Linked DNA regions of Homo sapiens: all the other regions are linked to region 4. Evidence: promoter capture Hi-C in 16 types of primary human blood cells and fetal thymus (Javierre and others, 2016). All regions are on one chromosome and are shown on one strand. Each heading gives the region's core, a stretch centred on a gene start or on the middle of the fragment in contact. The rest is flanking DNA. Distances are from core to core; before and after follow the strand shown.

Region 1 (2,848 bases), core at 119-2,618, 280 kb after region 4:
TTCCCACCATTCTCTTCACCTCTGCTCTCCATCCCACCCAACCTACATATTGCTGCTAAATTAATCCTTTTAAAGTACAGATCTAATATCACCTACCTGCTTTAAAAGAAGAAAAAAAAGAAGCTTTAATGCTTTTCTCCTAACTAGCTGCAGCCTTTCCCTAGCATTCAAGACTCCAAATATAGTTTCAAGCTCCTTCCTCACCCTATAGCCAAACCACACTACACTGTCTGCTGTGTTTCCAAACATACAGCCTGTGTTTCCTATCATTAGTTTGCCTTGCTTCCCCTGTCTCCACCTATTCTTCCAAAGGCCCATCTCACTTTGCAGAAACTCCCTATTGTTTTTCTGGATGCCCTGAAGAAGTTGCACTTTCTTCCTCTTCGGAAACATCAAGACAATCATTTTAACATCTTGGTTTGAGGGTCGGTATGTGGTGGTCTTTTCCCTGGCTGGTTGCTTGACAGCAGCACCTGTGTCCTACTTATCATTGTCTTTTCTGAAGTCTGCCTTATAACTAGGAACTCACACTCTTCTGATAAATAAATATCTAAGGAACTGATTGAAGCAGGAGAAGTCACAATATTAAGATACCAGTTTACAGAAATATTATCCATCTAAAGGTTACACAAAGCATCACATCCACCACAAGCTATGCTCTCATTTACCATTTCAGCTCTTTGCAACCTTTCAAGTATGAAAGAAATTGGACCTCACGTTCAGGACGCAATCTGCATCAAATTTTTATCTAGCTAAACTGTTTAAGAAATAAGATTTCTGAGAAGATTGTGCATGGAAGGAAAAGAAATGCTTCACATCAGCTTACAGGTTGCCATAAGCCTGGATGACCTGGTCTTAAAGCAAAATTCTAGGATGGTAAACTGGTGAATGAGTATATACAGGCACTAAAAAGGCAGACAACACTGGCAAGGATACTGGGAGGCAGAAGCTGTGGGGTCAACATGCATGACCCGGCTCCGGCTTCTTTAACTTGCCTAACCCCAGTTCCCTCACTCATAAAACCGGGCTCGTGGGCTGGATGAACTCCAAAATCCAGTTCTAACATCTAGAACTCCACAAGCATAACAATGTCTGCATTTTATTATTTCTCATGGAAAGTGGGTAAGAAACAACTTCCTGCTTATTTAATCTCTCATTTATTTAAAAAAAAAAAAAGAACCACACACATCTTCAATCTAAAAAAACCCATAGATTTCAGGGTTATTTTCAAAGGAGTCTCAAAATGAAAACAAAAACAAAAATTAAACAACCACCAACAAAAACAATCCCTGAGGACTAATAAATAAAAGAAAAAAACATATTACCCCACCAAATCTCATTACTAACTGTTAAATAACACTTTAAAAGTAAATGTTCTGTTAGAAATTTAAGATGCCAAATAGAGTTATAAAGCACAGTGAGGTAAACGGTAGGAATAAGTGGTGAAATATTTCTCTCAAGTTGTTTCTGGACCTTTCATCTAACAAAATAAATTTAGATTGAAGCTGCAGAAATATGAAAAGCAAAAATTTCAGAGTTCCTTGGATAATGAGAAACTATTAATAGAATATTAGGAGCACATATATACCATTTAGTTAGCCTAGCTTAAACTCTCCAACAAAGATTTTACTGTACTTGGGATTTTATACACGAGGATTCCCACCCTTGCTCTGCAAACTTTATGACTTGATTAACATGTGTGAAATCTTTCAGAATAACTTCTGAGGTTTTTGTTTTTGTTTTCTTTTTTCTTTTGTCTTAAAGCCATCAGACAGGCAGCTTTTGAGTGCAAACCATCACTTTAGGTCTTACCAGCTTCCAGTTAAAACTTCTGGGTTCACCATGTGCTGATGGCTTAAAGGTGCCAGTGATTTAGCCATTTTGATGGCTTAAAGGTGCCAGTAACTAGGGGTTACAGCTCAGTTGGAACGAAAGTATACTGTGCAGCACTTACGAGAGTTCTGAAAAGTGTTTTCTTAAAATGCTGGAGGGAAAGGGGATATTTTCTGGATAATATTGACAATTAATTGAAATAAAACTCTCCCTTTCTTTCTAAAATCCCAAATCAAAACTACCAACTTCATCAAAAACAAGGTGTAGCCTCTTCCTGACACTGTCACTAACTCTGGATTCGGCTCATCTGTCTTACCTTCTGATGCTTTGATCACATATCCCCCCTTGTCTTCACCAGGAGGCACATCGAGCAACTGCATAATTCTGTCCAGCAGCCCATGAATGATCTCAAACCCAGGATTCTTGTTGTAATAAACAGCACAGAGATGTCTGTAGTTTTTTGCACCTACATCTAGAAAAATAAAGGAACTGGTCACAACGCTGTATTAACCATTGCTTAAGAAACTGATTTACCCCAGTACAAACTTAGAAAAAGTCAACAAAAAAGAAAACCAAATATTAAACATTCAGAGAAGGATTCAACCTCACAAATGCAAAATAAGATAAAATAGTCTTTTTTCAGCTCATCAAATTCCCTAAGGTGTTTTATTTGGGGGAAAGAGTGAAAAACCCTCAATGCTGACCAGGGAAAATAAGGCTTCACTGAGGTATAAGTTGGTAAAATTCTTTGTAAACAATTTACCAATATATCAGAGCCTTAAAGCTTCATACTCTCTTATTCATAATATTAATACTACCCAAAGGAAATAATCCTAAATTCAAAAAGGCTTTATGTAGAAAGACATTTACTACAACATTATTTCCAATAGTAAAATTATAAACAACCTATATTAGGGATGGCTACATAAAGTACAGTGCAATCACTCATCAGGATACTAAGCGGCTATTAGAAAGCATCTTTATGATGGTTTATCATAACACAGCAACAGCAAAT
Region 2 (2,775 bases), core at 276-2,775, 300 kb after region 4:
ATGATGAAGTGTGAATTATTTACACTTAGAAAGTCAGAGACTAGGCTTAAAAAAATGGCTGTTACTCTTGTGCAAAACTGGATTTAACAACATAGACCATCTTTGCTCAGCGATGCTTAGGCTTGCCTATAAACATCTTTATAAACATCTTTAATGTTGAAATTCCTACAGGAAAATTTAGTACAAATCTGAAACCCTCTAGGAGCTCACTCCTTTCTCTTCCCCCCAGTGATAAACATTGAATGTATTAAAGTGACTTTGGACAGCTAAACAGACTGTTTCTAACATCCCTGGTGTGACAGTTCAGTCACAGGCCTTGGATGCAGACAGGCATGGGCGGGAATCCCTGATCCACAGCCATGGCGTAGGACAAGTTACTTAAATTAACTGCTGTGAAAGACAGGAATGCCCACTTCACAGGAGTATACTGAGAAGAAATGGAATCATGTACACAAAGCCCTTGGCACAGGGTAAACATTCCCTGCAGAGCAGCCACTAGTCAAGACTCGGCCTCTGTGCTCCTTCGAAGACACATGAGGCTCTAAGGTCACAAAATCAAACTGGCAATGGATATTGTAATAAGTATAAAGTATAAGTATAAAAAGGATAAAGTAATAAGTAACTTTTTTCAAACTGGCACCACTAATATAAAAGGGCAGGGAAAAATGCATACCCAAGTTTTAACAGCAGTTGTTTCTGGGGAGGAAAAGAGGATTCGAAGTGGGGAAAAGAACTGTTATGGTTTAATCTACATGGTTAAAGTATGAGTCCTTTAAAATAAGATGTATTCCTGTGACACTCATATGTTTTAAAAAATAAAAATATATTTTTCAATGTTATTTTTGGTACTTCATTTTATATGAAATCCTGGATGCTCACAACTACAAATGTGTGTATATATATGTGCAAAGATGAATGACATGGCATTACAGACCTAGTGTACACGGTATGAGACCATGGAAAAGCACTGTTCTAGGAGGCTAAAGGTCAGGACCCTGCTCATGATATAATGAGATCATGCAGGTATGGTGGCCTGGAACACAGCAGTTCTCCTGCTGTCCGTGTAAAATGTGCTACGTACTTATCCTCTCTCAGCCTCAGGCTTCCTCATTGGTGCAGTGCCTGACATATAATAAATGCTCAACAAATGTTGAATGAATGACTCCTGAATCAGAAAAATCTTAATGCTTAATATTTATTAAGCAAACTAGAAGTAGAGTCCCTTAAATACTCTAAAATATTGAGAATTTCAGAGGTAGGGCTAAGTTGCAGGGGAGAAAAAGAAGAAGCTTCCTTTCCCCTCATAGATTAAACATACTTGAATGCTCAAGAACTACATTGCAGGCACCACAGAAATGCTCAGCAAGAGGGAAAAACGGAACTACAAATTGCATACACATTTTATTCTTTCAAATGGTCAATCTGGTGGGGGAGGGAAATTTCCTTCTGATTTTGTAATAAAAGTCATTTCCTGATTTAGGCCTTTTATGTCAGCTTTTCAACTCAAAGCAAATGTTTGTGAACATGTTCAAAGACAAAGAAATTAATTTAATGTGGAACAGTCCACAAGCCTTTACCCAGGACGGCATCTAGTGGGCACAGCCATAACCAAATTAAGACCAAATATTCTAACTTAATAAATTTGGTTATGAAATACATTGTGAACTCTCAACACTCACATGAAACTATAAAATACTTTGTCATCTCTCATTTGAGGTATTTTTTTCTAGGCCTTCATTTTCTTTTGTGGCTGTAAAAACAAAAGCTTCAACATTACTTTACCAGGAATTGTATAATCTCAAGTAACAAAGTTATTCTTCCAGAATCTGGAAGTTCTAACAGTCTAGATTTTATAAATTCTTATAAAGCATCATAGAATAAATAATTCAGAGAGTCTAAGTAAATAATCATCTGGGCAGAAAAAGCATGTAAGACATACCAGGGCAAAGGTAAGTGCTTCAGTGAAGCCAGCGGCTGCCATGTCATGTCGGAGAAGTTCAGTGAGCTTATTAAGAGGAAACTGAAAAAAAAAGCATCCACTTGATTTCACCGCAATTATTTCTTGTTTTTTAAAAGGGAGATTTATACAGAACATGCCATTAAAACTTTTTTAAATAAAAATGTTTAAAAGATTAAAAACCTTTTCACCCTTACTAACGTACTGCTAATGCCACTATTTCCCTATCAATATTACCTCCTCCCTCCCCACCGCTCTGCCACCCCTCTGCTCCTACACAGATGTACAAACCACCCCCACTTCCATCTCTCCCACACACAGCTTCTGCCTTCAGGCCCAAGTTGAGAAAATGAATCTCTGAGAGATTCAACAAGGGCTCCAAACTCAAAACTTGTCTTTCTTCAAAGAACTAGTCATCACAGGTTTTCAACTTACTCTAATCATTTGGGCATCTGTTTTGTATCCTCTCCACAGCAAATGCCTCTCATTGCAGAGCATGTCCAAATACTGCTTGATTCCTACGTTCTGTTTTCTCGAAGCCTTCCTGGCATTAAATAATCAGTTTCTAACAATAAGGAGTGTTTATTTAAGGGTGCAATCTTACTTGATTAGCTATGGTGTAAGTTTTCGGGAGAGTCATCTGAATGTTGTTATATCCATAAGCAATAGCTGCATCTTCTACAATATCACATGCATGGATAATGTCAGCTCTGGTTGGAGGGATTTCAATCTCAATCTGATTCCCATCACCTATGACTTCTGATTTTAAATACATCCTGGTCAGAAGTTTGGCAAGATTTTCTGGAGTTTCTCTGAAA
Region 3 (2,727 bases), core at 124-2,623, 260 kb after region 4:
CTCCTGAAAGGTGAGCGACAAAATATAGTGACTCGGAAGGGGGAAAATGAGGGTTCTGGTTCTTGGAAGGGGAGAAGTAGAGGAAAGTACAACTATAACACAAAAAACCCTACAAGACAGGAAGGGCCAGGGGGTCTTGAGACATTTTACTTGGCCTCATAAGACCCTCAGCAAGAAGATCACATTCCTGACCCACAGCCCACATGAGCCAACAGGTGCTCAGATGTATTTCCAAGGTTGCCCAAGTCACCCAAATGAATGACAGCATTCATTTCTCAAAAAGCCCAAGGTTAGGCCACAGCTATTCAACCCCAGTGTAAAACAAAATAATTGGTCAAAGTAAAAACCACAACTGAGACTTCAGTAAAGTTAACGGGCCTCCTGTCATTTTTATGAAGGTATTGGGAATACTTTAAATGAATGTCAATCTGTTGGATTTCTGCAATGATGTAATATATATATAGAAGAGTAATTTAAGCTAAAAAGCAGAAAGGAGTCTCTCAAAAAAGGAATAATATGGGAGAGAAGAAATGTGCTGACAGATGAATGAAACTGGAGAAGACAGATCTCTAATGGATGTTCTGTTATGTTTCTGCATCCCCACTGCCCCAAAAGTCCATAGTAAAAGAAACATTTCCAATTTTTAAACAAAGCAGACTATGGATTAACATATTTTTAAAAATCAGAGCAAGCATTTAGTTATTAAAGGTTTCTAGAATCTTGCTTGTTAGAAATAAATACAGGAAATGTCAAAAAAGTGGTTTTTCAACAATTTTCTAATTTCCTAGATAAACCATAATAGATATGCTATTAGCTTCTGAGCAGTTGGAGTCAAAAGACAGTTGACAAACTGAAAAAACAGCATATGTATATCACGAAGGGTTGACAGCCACACTACATAGAAGGTTCCTAAAACTAGAGAAGATTGACAAACCTAAAGAAATAAGGAAGAAGACAGGTGGATCACAGAAAAGGAAATAAAAATGTCCTTGTAAACATGTAAATATGTTACATTTGCTCACGGCAAGGGAAATTCAATTAAAACTACAGTGAGACACCATTTCCCATCTGAAAGACTGGCAAAGACAAGAAGTCTGGTGACCATGGCTGTGGAGAAATAAGTCCTCTCAAGTGTTGCTGCAGCGTTTGTACAACGTTGGAACTAGAAATCCTATGGAGGGGTGTTTGGCAGTGTCTAGTGAAAATATGAATTTATTTACTTTGTCCCAGTGATCCCATACTTCTAGGAATCTGTCCCAGAGATACAGTGGCATTACCAAATAACATATGCACAAGACTATTCTCTGTAACACAATCTGTAATAGCAAAAGATTGGAAACAACTCAATGTTAATCAACAGGAAATTAGTTGATTACACTGTGGAACTCCATAAAATGAAGTACCCCAGAGAAGTCAAAAGAAAGGAGGAAGATCTCTATATGCTGCTACAGAATCATCTCCAATGTAGGCTGTCAGGTAAAACAAAGAAAGGTACAGAACAGTGTGTAAAGTATCAGCCCCTCAGCTGAAAGAGTAGAAGAGAATATGAACACACACACACAGGTGTGTGCACACATACATCAGAAGGATAAACTGAAAACTAATAAAAATCATAACCTATAGAGGCAGGGAGGGAACGGTGTGGAAGCCAGAGTTCTCTCTACGTCCCTTATTTATAGCCTATATTCTAAGTACAAAAAGTAATAAGGATAAATTTTAAGCTGCTTTCAATAATCATATTGTTGATAATAGTATTTTTATTTTGAAACTATGATAGATAAATAGATAAACAGAATGAGCAAACAAGCAATAATGTAAATTCGGGCGCAGTGGCTCACGCCTGTAACCCCAGCACTTTGGGAGGCCGAGGAAGGCAGATCACTTGAGGTCAGGAGTCAAGACCAGCCTGGCCAACATGACGAAACCCCATCTCTACTAAAAATACAAAAAATTAGTCGGGTGTGGTGGCAGGCACCTGTAATCCCAGCTACTCGGGAGGCTGAGGCAGGAGAATTGCTTGAACTCAGGAGGCAGAGGTTGCAGTGAGCCGAGATCACGCCACTGCACTCCAGCCTGGCAGACAGAGCAAGACTATGTCTCCAAAAGAAAAAAAAAAAAAGAGCAATAATGTAAATTCACTAGGAACCAAGATTCTCACTAAAGAAAAAGAGATAAACTAACACAGGAACAGAAAACCAAACACTGCATGTTCTCACTCATAAGAGGGAGTTGAACAACAAGAACACATGGACACAGGGAGGGGAACATGTTAAAAGCAAACTGAAGCCAGCTTCAAGGGACTCCTGCTGGCCAAACTGGGGACAATTTGAGCATCAAAATAAATGACTGTAATGGATCTAAATACACTGACTAAAATCAGCAGCAATGAGTCCATACTGACATAACTAAGTATATAGGAAAACTGATTAGAAACAGTATATTTACATAATTTCAAAGCTCTTCCCCCACAAGACATTTATTAATTATAATGGAGAAAAGAATAACTTTACAGTACAGATGACTGGTAGCTACAACCTTAATTAAGTGATTACAGTGAACATTATCAGTTATTGGATAAATGAAAATTGCGTGCCACTTCATAGCATGCATTGGGAAGTTAGCATTACTTCTCTACCATTCCTCCAAAGATGCCTAACAGGAATTTAATTAGTGAAGAAACATCAGACAAACCAAAATTGAGGAACATGCTACAAAATAACTGGCCTG
Region 4 (2,700 bases), core at 7-2,506:
CCATGAAATTAATGTCATGAAAATAGATATTTCTATAAATACCTCTTGTTTTTATTATTAAGACAATGCAGACATAAAACACTTCATACTGTAGTTTCTACATTGCAGCCAAACCACTTATCAATGGCCAATAAATTACTTCACTCCTATGATAGATACAAATGCTCGATTCAAGTTCAATTAATAGAATAGTGTCAGGATATCATGCAGACAGCTTGCATAAATACTCGAGGAATAATAGCATACCTTCAGTAGATTCTGTGATTTTTAAGCATGAAAACTTTGTCTTATTCCAAATTTCAAAAGATGGAATAAAGAATGTTTTCATATAAAATACATTTGGAACAGTTTTCCTTCTTAAAAAAAAAGGCATCTAACCCACTTGCAACATATACTGGCAATTCATCTTTGTAGTTACAAAATCAGATAGATATATATTCTTTTTCATCTCATGTGACTGTATGTGAACATTTCAGTAATTCCAACAATATCAAACAGCTAAATTCAAAATCATATAATACTTTCTAATAAGTGTATACGATATATATCTTTTGTAGCCAAAGGCAGAAAGACCTTCAGTTAGTTGATTTCATGTTTGGGCACTAGTTTATATTTTATCAGATAATTAAAAGTCATTAGTTATTTCACAGTATAAAATATTGAATCAATTACCAACAGGCTTTTATTTTCTGCTCCTAATTTCGAAATGTATTTGGACTCGAGGTATGGGAATAATGTCACTGCTTATCAAACAATTTTCTGGAAATCTTAATGCACAAAAATTTCCAGATTTATATATTCAAAAATAAATTATATGTTAAATGAAATTAAGAAAAAAAGGCGAGGGGAAGGAGAAAATCTAGTTTATATTCTGTGTGAATAGCTTTCAATATCTTCCAGGTGGGGGCAACCGTAAGCCACTTTTGAGAGAAGGGAGAACAGGCTCTTTAAGCTCCCTGAGTCTAGTTACAGAAGACTTCCTGGCAGTAACACCGTGAATAAAACAACCACAAGCTTCCAGGAGATGAGACTTCTAGGCTCTGCTCCAGACAACACCCGGCCATGGGCAACAGGGCCCACCGCCCTGGGCGCGCCGCAGCCTCGGCCACTCCGAGTCGGCTCCGATCGCGCACGCGCGCCGTGCACCTGCCCCATCGCGCCCAGCTGCTGCCTGAGCTCCGGGCACGCCCGCGCTGTGCCGGCGGGGAGTGTCCGTCACTCTCAGCGCTCAGGATCTCTCCCTTTCCAGGACCGCTAGGAAGCAGGAAATCCTTTTCCTCTCACGTTTACATCCCATTCATTCTTCCTCCGGGCAATTCAAGTCCATTCACAGCCGCCACAGATGCACGTGTGCACGCGCGCAGCTGCACCTTTAAAGAAACTCTCAAGTCCTGGCGGCCAGAAAACCAGCTTTCAGGCGGGGCGGTGGGGCTCCCCCTCCCCTTGCTTCGTCTCTGCAGATCTTTGTGCTCTAGGGAGGGATGGCCGCACATTCTGACGAGGACGAGGGTGGTGCATAACGCGGAGGTCAATTTTGCACAGTCCAGGCAAAAGAGACCCCCCCCCCCCACCAACATCCCTTCCTGTTCAGTTTCCCTCTCTGGCCCAGCGCGAAGGGCGAGGGGCGACAGAAGCCCGAGGGACAGAAAACCGAGGCTCCTCAGTGGCCGAGTTGGGAGAGAGTGTGAGTCCAGGAGAGCCCGGGGGCAGCAGGGAGAGGGTGCAGAAGCTCGAGCGCACCGAGCCAGAGGCCCCCTCTTCTCCCGCCACGCGGGGCTGGAGGTGCAGGCGCCGGTTCCGCGGCGTGGCCCGGCTATGTGTCGCTCCTCCGCGCGCCGCCCGCCGCAGCCCGTGCCCTCGGGCCGCCGCCGCCGCCGCTGCCCCCCGTCGAGCCCGCGGCCGCACCCTCGGGCCGATACTTGAGCCAGCAGATGACCCAGGTGACAACGACCGAGAAGAGTGCCAGGATGCTGGCCACCGACAGGCAGATGGGCCCCACGGGCGAGGGCGAGGGCGACCCGGTGGCCGGTGCCTCGCCAGGGGGCGCCCCGCCTCCGGGGGTTCCCCCGCCGCCGTAGTGGTTGACGAAGATGAGGCCGGTGAAGAGCAGCACCACCATGGAGAGGAAGGAGAAGACCACGCACACGCAGCCAGCGGTGAGCGCCGCGCGCTTGCAGTTCTGGCAGCTGTCGTAGGCGCCCGGGGCGCGCAGGCCGGGGCGGGCTCGAGGCCCGGGGGCCGCGTCCTCGGCAGGCGGCGGCGGCGGCGGCTGCGGTGGGGCGGGGGAGGGCGGCGGTGGCGGGGCCGGGGTGGGCGGCGGGGCAGCAGCGGGCGCGGGCAGGCGCGCGGGCAGCGGCGGGAGGCGGTCCTGGGGCAGCGGGTCGTGCGCTGCGCGCAAAGCCAGCGGGAAGGCCTCGGCTAGCTTGGTGTTGTTGGGCAGGCCGTGCACGCGGCTGTCGGGCAGCGGCGTGCGGTGGCGGCACACCGGGCACGCGATGGCGCCGGGCGGGCAGAGCCAGGGCGGCGGGCGCGGCGGGCGCTCAGGCGCGGCGGCAGCGGCGGCGGCGGCGGCGGCGCGGAGCTGCAGCTGGCTCAGGCACTCCTGGCAGAAGGTGTGCAAGCACGCCAGCAGCTTGGGCGCGCGCCGGTCCGCGTCGAAGTAGTTGTAGCAGATTTTGCACTCGTAGTCCTCAAGCGGAG
Region 5 (2,700 bases), core at 180-2,679, 320 kb after region 4:
GGATAATAAAGAAACATTATGAACAACTTTGTCAATAAATTTAATAACTTAGACAATATCGATATATCCCTTGAAATACGTAAACTTCCAAAGCTCATTAAAGAGGTTAATTAGGATTTACTGACAGAAAAGAACTCTGGCACACCAAAGTATTAGGATGTGTTCAATTCTTCCCCTTAGAAAAAGCTCATGATTTCCAGAAATACCAAATAAAACAGAGCTTAAAGTTAAATTAAGTAAGAAAATGTCTGTTTAGATTAAAATAACTTCTTAAAATAAACAGATAATAGAGCCAGAGCAGATAATCTGGCTCAACCACTTAAGTTATACCTATACTTGTCAGAAATCTTGTATTTTGTTCTTAATTTTGAAATTATATTTAAATTGTTATTGTTTTGCTTAATAATGACATATTAGCAAGCTGACATATAAACTCTTTTATATACAAGGACTGGGAATAAATGCTATTTGGAATCTGAAAAAAATGTTGCTACTACCACATGGACAAAGATGTTTTTCACCACAGCAGAAAATGTCTACGGTTCTCCCTCTATCCTGTCCCTAGCCCATCCCATACACATAAACCCCTCCTAGGCTCTACAGTTTACTAAACTACAATTATTAGCAAATAGCTGCAGCAGATCTCACACAAAAAAATAAATAAAAATTCTTTTTCTATTTTTATTTGAGACATATATAACTATCAATCATACCTTTGGATCAACATGCAGTAACTTATGCTGATCTATTTCAGAACCAACACAAATAAGCTTAATATGTTAGGCTAAAGTCTGAGGTTTCTCATCATCAGTAAGTATACAGTTTCCATTAGGATTTTGAAATACTTAAATTTGTTCAAGGATTCCCGTTGTTACCTTCACTGACCTTTAAGAGTTCAGAAATTATACAGGTGTGAAGATTATTGCCCTAAAGGAGCTGTGCAGGAAATTATGCATAGTAATGTAAAGACTGAATAAGTAAAATTTAGTCATTTAAACTCAAGTTCTGTCAATTTATAATTACTCTCACTCAAAAAGTGAGAATAAGCCAAAATGTTATTTCCATTTTAAAAATGATATATCATACTTCATTAACACGGTTTATACTTAGTAGCATAATCCACGACTGATCTGAACCAAAACAACAACAACAAAAAGCAGGGAAGTCTCTAGGACTAGATAATTCTTCTCTATACAGTATTCAAAATATACCTCCTGTTTCTCCATGCATATGGCATTTACAAGCAGTAAAAGGTATCTGGTAAAGCAAAGTGAAATTCTCATATTCTGTCACATACTATTAATTTAGAAATGATTTGTAAAAAATCTGCAGAGGAAGAAAGGAAGGAGAGAGAGAGAAAGAAGGCAGAAGTGGCAAGAGAGAAGAGGGAGAGGGATCAGGATGGAAAGGAGATAGGGAGACAAAGGGAAAGGGGAAGGCAAGGAAGAAAGAAAATGCAACCACAAACCTGCAAATATTCTGATGTAATTTCTCCTGAAGTTCAATGAAGCTGTCATATCGATCTTTAGTAAACTTTATATTACGGAGAACTGCTGCTACCGCAAAAGGACGTATCTTAGCTGTCTGAAATTCATAATATCATTAGAGATAGCAAACAGTAAGGCTTTTCTTTGTAATATCTTGTAATAGGAAGGTAGCTGCATTCTTGCCACTGGCATACATTTTCATTCAAACAAGTATATATTAATTTATTCAGTCAACAAGTAATAAAGTGGTAAACAAGAGAAAAAGTCACTACCTTCACAGAATTTATATTTCAGTAAGATTTCTGAAAATGTATTAAATAATTGAGAAAAAGTTTGCTCATAATTCATATATTTACCAAACAACCCCTCTGAAAAGTTTAAAATCTTTTAAAATTTCATTAATGTTCCACAATTTAAACAATTATATCTCAAATGTGTTTTAAACATGCATTGGATATTATTATCCAAAATTATTTATGGAAAGCAAAGGCTTTGTTCTTTTTCATTCCTAGGTTAAAAAAAAATGTTTTTTTAAGGGCTAGGGGCTAAGTATATAATCATTTTAGCAAATGATCAAAGAAAATCACATTTTTTAGAAGGGTAAGCTTTGGACCAGGCACAGAGGCTCACAGCTATAATCCCAGCACTTTAGGAGGCTGTAGGGGAAGGATCCTTTGAGCTCAGGAATTTGAGAGCAGCCTGGGCAACATAGTGAAACCCCATTTCTAAACAATACAAAAAATTAGCTGGGTGTGGTGGCGTGTGCCTGTACTCCCAAATACTCAAGAAGCTGCAGGGGAAGGATCCTTTGAGCTCAGGAATTTGAGACTAGCCTGGGCAACATGGTGAAAACCCATTTCTAAAAAATACAAAAAATTAGCCAGGTGTGGTGGCGTGTGTCTGTACTCCCAAATACTCAAGAAGCTGCAGGGGAAGTATCCTTTGAGCTCAGGAATGAGACCAGCCTGGGCAACATGGTGAAACCCCATTTCTAAAAAATACAAAAAACTAGCCGGGTGTGGTGGCGTGTGCCTGTACTCCCAAATACTCAGGAGGCTGAGGTGGGAGGATCACTTGAGCCTGGGAAGCAGAGGTTGCAGTGAGCCAAGACTGCACCACTGCATTCCAGTCTGGGCAAAAGAGCCAGACCCTGTCTCAAAACAAAAAAAAAAGAGTAAGCTTTGTTTCTCTTTCCTCCCCACTTTATACAGAC
Region 6 (2,888 bases), core at 76-2,575, 350 kb after region 4:
GCGCACGCGTGAGAGAGAGAGAGAATACTTACTTTTATGATTAATGCATCTTATGAAAATCAGAACCATGACCTTTGCCCTAAACTATCCCCTGTAAGGACTCTGTCTAGACAGAATACTAACAGAATACTATTTCCTTTTTAACCTAACAATGAGAACATTTTTACTTAAGTTACAGTAAAACGTCATGTTATAGAAAGACATTGTCACCTTTCTACTAGTAGATGTTAGTTATAGTAAAGTGCACAGGAAGAAATAATTAGAACAAGGAAATGATTTCTTATTTCTCAATTCCAAGAGTAGCCTTTCATAATTGTTGAGACAATCTGGCCTGTGACCTTATTTCTTCATCAGAGTTGAGAAGTAGAAAGAGGAACCATACCCATCAGTGGAATCCCAGATCTTCAAAGGGACTGTGTTGGTTCCTTCCCCAGGACTTGCCACAGCTGTGGTGCTTGGTACATTTTCATTGAATTATTGTAAACATATATATGTATTATTCACTCATATTTAGCCAATTCCAGGCCCATAGGAACAAAGCTGACACTTCTGCCAAATGTATTTTTCTTTAATCATTTGCTAAAATATTTGTTGACTGAATGGATAACTACACCTCAACCCAAATGACAGGTTCAGTCATCAGCACTCTTCTACTTACCCTTCAATGACTTGTTCCTCTGTTGTGACAACACTCCCTTTCTTCCTTATATTATTTGAGAAACAGCCTAGTATAGCAGTTAGGCTCTGGAATCTTAGGTTCATTTAGAATTGTTTTGAATAGCTTGATGAATTAAAACTTTCCCACTATGTAAATCCAGTGATCACTTAACTCAAGTAACTTGGCACACAATATGTAAACAAATAAATACATGTTGAATGTCAAAAGGATGAGCAAATAATTTAATTGTTGATTAAAATGGTGATGGACTGTTGCATTGACTGAGTGCTGGTGAGTCCATGCTTTGTTTCAGTTGGCTGTGATGGCTGTGACAGGATATGACAGTTCTTATCTATCAGCTTAGTGTTCTGGGAAAGTAACAAATACATTACTAAGCAAGCAAACTCCAAGTGATCAGGATCAGGAGTTCTCGGTGTTTTGCTCTTCTTTACCGACAGATTCGAAATCCAATGAATCAAAGAGTCCTACCATTTATATGTCCCATGCATATCTCAAGTCTATATTTTCCCAAGCTTCCACATCCTCTACAATCATCCTACAATAGCCTTCTTAGGGGATATGCCTACTTCCACTCTTGCTACCTCCAATCTGTTCTAAATAGGTGCCCATTATTCTGTATCAGCCTATGTGTTTCCTTCAGGGCACTGTCACACATTTGGTTGTCTACATAGGTAGGTATTTTCTGTTTCTCCCACTAGACTGTGAGCTGCAGCAGGACAAAGACTTTTCTTATTCACCATTGTAACTCATCTCCTTTCCCTACCCAGTGCCTAATACATAGAAAGCTTTCCACAAATAGTCAATAAGTAAATGTGTGTAAATTCTCAAAGGCACAGAGACCTCATCTTAATTCACGTTTGTGTCATCAGTACCAAGGACAATGCCCAAGGCAATGCAGGCACTCCATAAATGTTTGTTCTATGTTTGGTTCAGTTGATGAAGGGATGACTCGCCTCTCCAGGTTTTATAGAAATTTGAATCTTCTCTATTCTGCCATTTACCAGCTGTGTGACTTTAAGCCCTAATTTCCTCAGCTGCAAAGTTGAAGTGAATGCGTACTTTGTAGGGTTTTTGAGATTACGCCTGTGAGGTCTCTGCAGAGTGCCTGACATAGGGTGTGTTCGTAGTGTCCCCACCTAGCACTGGGGGAAGATTCAAGGAAGAAATCTAAAAGGAAAGAAGAAAGTGACTCCTTAAGTAGGAGGAAAAAGAAACCCAAACAAGTTTTGCATACAAAAAATCACAAACAACTCCTCCAAGTGGCCCTGGTATTTGTTTTAATCCAACTCCCTTTGTATTAAAATGTTGAAGGAGAAAAGGGCATAGGATGGGGGAGAAAGGAGGGCCAACTATATTGTTTTGCCCTGTTCCAAGTCCTCTTCAGCAATGACTTGACAGCTGCTCATCATTTTGAGTTTTTCAACTATGTGGTAATTAATATTTATAAATAAAGTGCAGTGGTTGCTCCCAAGGACTAGGCACTATTTAGAATCTAGCCATCCATTTAGCACATCGTAATTGAAACCCTTCAGTGTCTTGTACTGCTCTTGGGGTTCAAACTTGAACCCTAACTCAGTCTGCAAGGGTCTGGACCTTGCCCACCATTTTTGCCTGATGTCACCCCAATCTCACCCTTGTCCCCCAAGCTCTCACTCTTTGAGCTCTTCTTGGAGTTCAGCCACAGGACCTTTGCATATGTGCTTCCCTTTGCCCGGATGACTCCTGGGTTAACTAGATTTGGCTACAGCTCAAGTAAGGGCACTTCTTCAGACACTTCCCTGACCGTGCAGCAGTCTTGGTTTTGGAATCTTCTAGTCATTCACAGTAGGGTCTTACTTGTAATTATACACCAAATTGTGTAGTTGTTTTGCTTATGTCTGTTTCCCCCTGTACTCTGAGAACAAGACAATGAATAGCTTGTGTCAGGCCTCTGAGCCAAAGCTCAGCCATTATAACCTCTGTGACCTGCATGTACACATCCAGGTGGCCTGCAGGAGCCAAGAAGCCTGGAGCAGCCAAAAAAAACGCAAAGAAGTAAAACAGCCAGTTCCTGCCTTAACTGATTAACCAACATTACAACATTTTACCATTGTGACTTGTCCCTGCCCTACCTTAGCCGATCAATCGACTTTGTGACATTCTTCTTCTGGACAATGAGTCTTATGATCTCCCCACCCTGTACCTTGTGACCCCTTCCTCTGCTAACAAT
Region 7 (2,700 bases), core at 8-2,507, 260 kb before region 4:
GAGGAAAATCACTCTTCACCCAAAAAGAAAGCTTGAAAGGATGATGCCCATAATTTGTTCATTATCACCAACCCACTCCTTTGTAGGGCAACATGCTTTGAGTTCGGAAGTAAATCTAGATCCAGTCCTATGCATAGGTACCTTTGTAAAGAGGACATGAAGCCAGGTATTTTAGATTGAATTCTGGTTTCTCAAGTAATGTTTAGAAATGAAGAACTCCCTTCCCATTTAACTTCCTTTAACAACAGTCTGTGCCTGCAATGCCAAACTCTCAGTTTTAAATATTTAGTCCTGCTGAACCTGCATTTATTTGTTTTTATTTTTATTTTTATTTTGAGACAGGGGTCTCACTGTGTTGCCCAGGCTCGTCTCAAACTCCTGATCTCAAATGATCCTTCCACCTCAGCCTCCAAGAAGCTGAGACTACAGGCATGAGCCACCACAGCCAGCTAGACCCACATTTTTTAAAAAAAATTATTTATTTTGCTCATCCTTTAGACAATACTTTTTTTTTTAATTTGGTGTGTGTGTGTGTTATTATACTTTAAATTCTGGAATACATGTGCAGAACGTGCAGGTTTGTTACATAGGCATACATGTGCCATGGTGGTTTGCTGCACCTATCAACCCATCATCTAGCTTTTAAGCCCCACATGCATTAGGTATTTATGCCAATGCTCTCCCTCCTCTTGCGCCCCAACCTCTGACAGGCCCTGGTGTGTGATGTTCCCCTCCCTGTGTCCATGAATTCTCCCTGTTACACTCCCACTTATGCGTCAGAACATGTGGTGTTTGGTTTTCTGTTCCTGTGTTAGTTTGCTGAGAATACGTATGTTTATTGCAGCACTGTTTACAATAGCAAAGACTTGGAACCAACCCAAATGCCCATCAGTGATAGACTGGATAAAGAAAATGTGGCACATACACACCATGGAATACTATGCAGCCATAAAAAAGAATGGGTTCATGTCCTTTGCAGGTACATGGATGAAGCTAGACCTACATTTATCAGATAATTGTGAAGGCAGCCGAAGAATCTTGTCCCCATAAACATGCTTTCTCTCCTAGAGATCTCCAGTACCTCATGAGCTATAGAATATACATGATTTCTAATTATATATAAAGCCAGAAAAATATTGAAATGTGATGATATGCTTTTGGAGGGGCATTTAAAATCTTATGAACTCCCAATTGACAAAGGAAAAATGACCCATACTTAAATTTGACTTCTTTCCTAGTGTTTTTTCTAGTCTTTTCCATGGTTTTTTTTTTTCAGGATTTTTGAATAAGACATTTCAGTCTTTGTAATAAAACCATCAACAGTATCTCAATCCAAATTTCTAACAGTTTACATTCTTAGGAATGTGTGCTTTATTAGACTCATAAACAGTAATAATCGTGATTGCTACAATTTCGTGAATGCTGGTTCTATGCTGGAAACTGTACTAGGTGCATTCTATGGTCTATTGCTAATCCTTAATCACCACCCTGTTTGGCAGATGCTATCATTCCCATATTAGAGAGTAAGATAAAGTTAAACAAGGACTAGAGCTATTTCCCTAAGGGGGAGATGAGGCATTAACCATGCCTTTTCGGTTAATTCCACAAGTAAATAATACTAGATACTCAGTGTCATCATCTCTACAGATTTATTGCCTTCCTTCTGTGGACCAACCTCTTTTCTAGATGTTCATAAACATTGGCTTATTTAATCCTTGCAAAAGTCTCAAGAGATGCCTCTAATTCTCACCAGGGTGGGGGTGAGAAAACTGAAAATCAGCGATATGCTCAGAAATGGCAAAGTTAAGAACCTAACACAGATTTTTTTATGTCAATTTCAATGCCTTTCCACTAAAATCCGATTGCATCCCAGACAAACAAAAATAAGAAAGTCATACTCACTTTTGTAATGTGGCAGGAGCAGCCTGTTTACTGCTGTGCCTTCACTGTCAAAAGCATGCCTGAACTTTTCCCAGCAGGCAGCTGAAAGTGTAGCGGAATTATCAAAGGGGTGCCATTAGCAAGAACTCTGTTCGAATCTGCTGCGATGCAATAGCTTAAGGGAGTGGGTTGTTTATCCCTTAAGGGAACTTAAGGGAGTGGGTTGTTTATCCCTTAACACTTGTTTCTCTATCAGCCAAATGGACATTCTTACCTGTCTCCTCATCATCTTTGGAAATTAAACTCCATGAGGGCAGGGACTTTGTTTATCTTGTTCACTCCTCTTTTCTCAAATGTTTAAAACATACAATACACTTAAAATATTTTTGTAGGGAAAAAGAACATGATTCACAGGTTTTGTAAAGATCAGATGAGTTCATATGTATGAATGTTCTGTTTATTCTTTCTCCCTCCCATCTGAGAGATTAACCTTCAAATTAGGTTAGCTTAGTCTTGTAAACTAGATCTGTCTACACATCTAGATATGGATCCTTCTTGACTTCTAAAAAGCCTTATCTTTTAAGTACAGTTGGAGAATGCCTAAAGCTTTGGGATTTTTAAGATTCAGTGAGTGAAAAACAATTACCAAAATACTTTAATTTGCTTTCTAGCCACTTCATCCATATGACTTTGAATCGAACACTTAAAACTATCTGAGGTTCTGAGAGTGGGGATGCTATTACACTCTTAAGGTTATTACAAATATTAGCCTAAAAGTATAAAGAATATTTTTTCTAAATGAAAAATACTTGTCAAAGC

What was found. Contacts are between HindIII fragments. The CHiCAGO score rates a contact against its expected background, and 5 or more counts as called.
Region 1: a fragment that was not itself captured here is called in contact with the fragment with the promoter of CT75 in region 4 in 3 of 17 cell types (M1 macrophages, M0 macrophages and megakaryocytes); the score reaches 7.7 in M1 macrophages.
Region 2: a fragment that was not itself captured here is called in contact with the fragment with the promoter of CT75 in region 4 in 8 of 17 cell types (megakaryocytes, M0 macrophages, M1 macrophages and 5 more); the score reaches 11.7 in megakaryocytes.
Region 3: a contact is called between a fragment that was not itself captured here and the fragment with the promoter of CT75 in region 4, in 1 of 17 cell types (M2 macrophages). The highest score is 5.4, in M2 macrophages.
Region 5: a contact is called between a fragment that was not itself captured here and the fragment with the promoter of CT75 in region 4, in 8 of 17 cell types (M1 macrophages, monocytes, erythroblasts and 5 more). The highest score is 8.9, in M1 macrophages.
Region 6: a fragment that was not itself captured here is called in contact with the fragment with the promoter of CT75 in region 4 in 3 of 17 cell types (monocytes, M1 macrophages and M0 macrophages); the score reaches 6.3 in monocytes.
Region 7: a contact is called between a fragment that was not itself captured here and the fragment with the promoter of CT75 in region 4, in 1 of 17 cell types (M2 macrophages). The highest score is 5.8, in M2 macrophages.

What each region holds. Positions count from the first base shown.
Region 1 is chr2:222,597,779-222,600,626 of GRCh38, forward strand. It overlaps FARSB (phenylalanyl-tRNA synthetase subunit beta), which reads right to left. Exons shown (of 17, transcript NM_005687.5): 16 at 2,150-2,305. Among named protein-coding and RNA genes, the nearest start is that of FARSB, 57 kb to the right of the region's middle. The HindIII fragment of the contact is 2,494 bases long and covers 122-2,615 here.
Region 2 is chr2:222,621,711-222,624,485 of GRCh38, forward strand. It overlaps FARSB (phenylalanyl-tRNA synthetase subunit beta), which reads right to left. Exons shown (of 17, transcript NM_005687.5): 12 at 2,562-2,769; 13 at 1,940-2,020. Among named protein-coding and RNA genes, the nearest start is that of FARSB, 33 kb to the right of the region's middle. The HindIII fragment of the contact is 476 bases long and covers 1,288-1,763 here.
Region 3 is chr2:222,580,825-222,583,551 of GRCh38, forward strand. All of the region lies in intron 16 of FARSB (phenylalanyl-tRNA synthetase subunit beta), which reads right to left. Among named protein-coding and RNA genes, the nearest start is that of FARSB, 74 kb to the right of the region's middle. The HindIII fragment of the contact is 5,883 bases long and covers 1-2,727 here.
Region 4 is chr2:222,317,215-222,319,914 of GRCh38, forward strand. CT75 (cancer/testis associated transcript 75) reads left to right here and starts at 1,257. Exons shown (of 4, transcript NR_136642.1): 1 at 1,257-2,156. RNF228 (ring finger protein 228) reads right to left here. Exons shown (of 1, transcript NM_001395871.1): 1 at 1-2,700. The coding sequence ends at 1,814. RefSeq lists enhancers at 950-1,545, 1,322-1,371 and a silencer at 1,842-2,171. The HindIII fragment of the contact is 3,961 bases long and covers 1,013-2,700 here.
Region 5 is chr2:222,638,112-222,640,811 of GRCh38, forward strand. It overlaps FARSB (phenylalanyl-tRNA synthetase subunit beta), which reads right to left. Exons shown (of 17, transcript NM_005687.5): 5 at 1,469-1,584. Among named protein-coding and RNA genes, the nearest start is that of FARSB, 17 kb to the right of the region's middle. RefSeq lists a silencer at 136-283. The HindIII fragment of the contact is 1,322 bases long and covers 769-2,090 here.
Region 6 is chr2:222,667,974-222,670,861 of GRCh38, forward strand. LOC124907985 (a long non-coding RNA gene) reads left to right here. Exons shown (of 2, transcript XR_007088095.1): 2 at 2,663-2,888. Among named protein-coding and RNA genes, the nearest start is that of MOGAT1, 2.2 kb to the right of the region's middle. The HindIII fragment of the contact is 273 bases long and covers 1,190-1,462 here.
Region 7 is chr2:222,053,523-222,056,222 of GRCh38, forward strand. No RefSeq gene overlaps it. Among named protein-coding and RNA genes, the nearest start is that of CCDC140, 240 kb to the right of the region's middle. RefSeq lists an enhancer at 1-89. The HindIII fragment of the contact is 2,456 bases long and covers 30-2,485 here.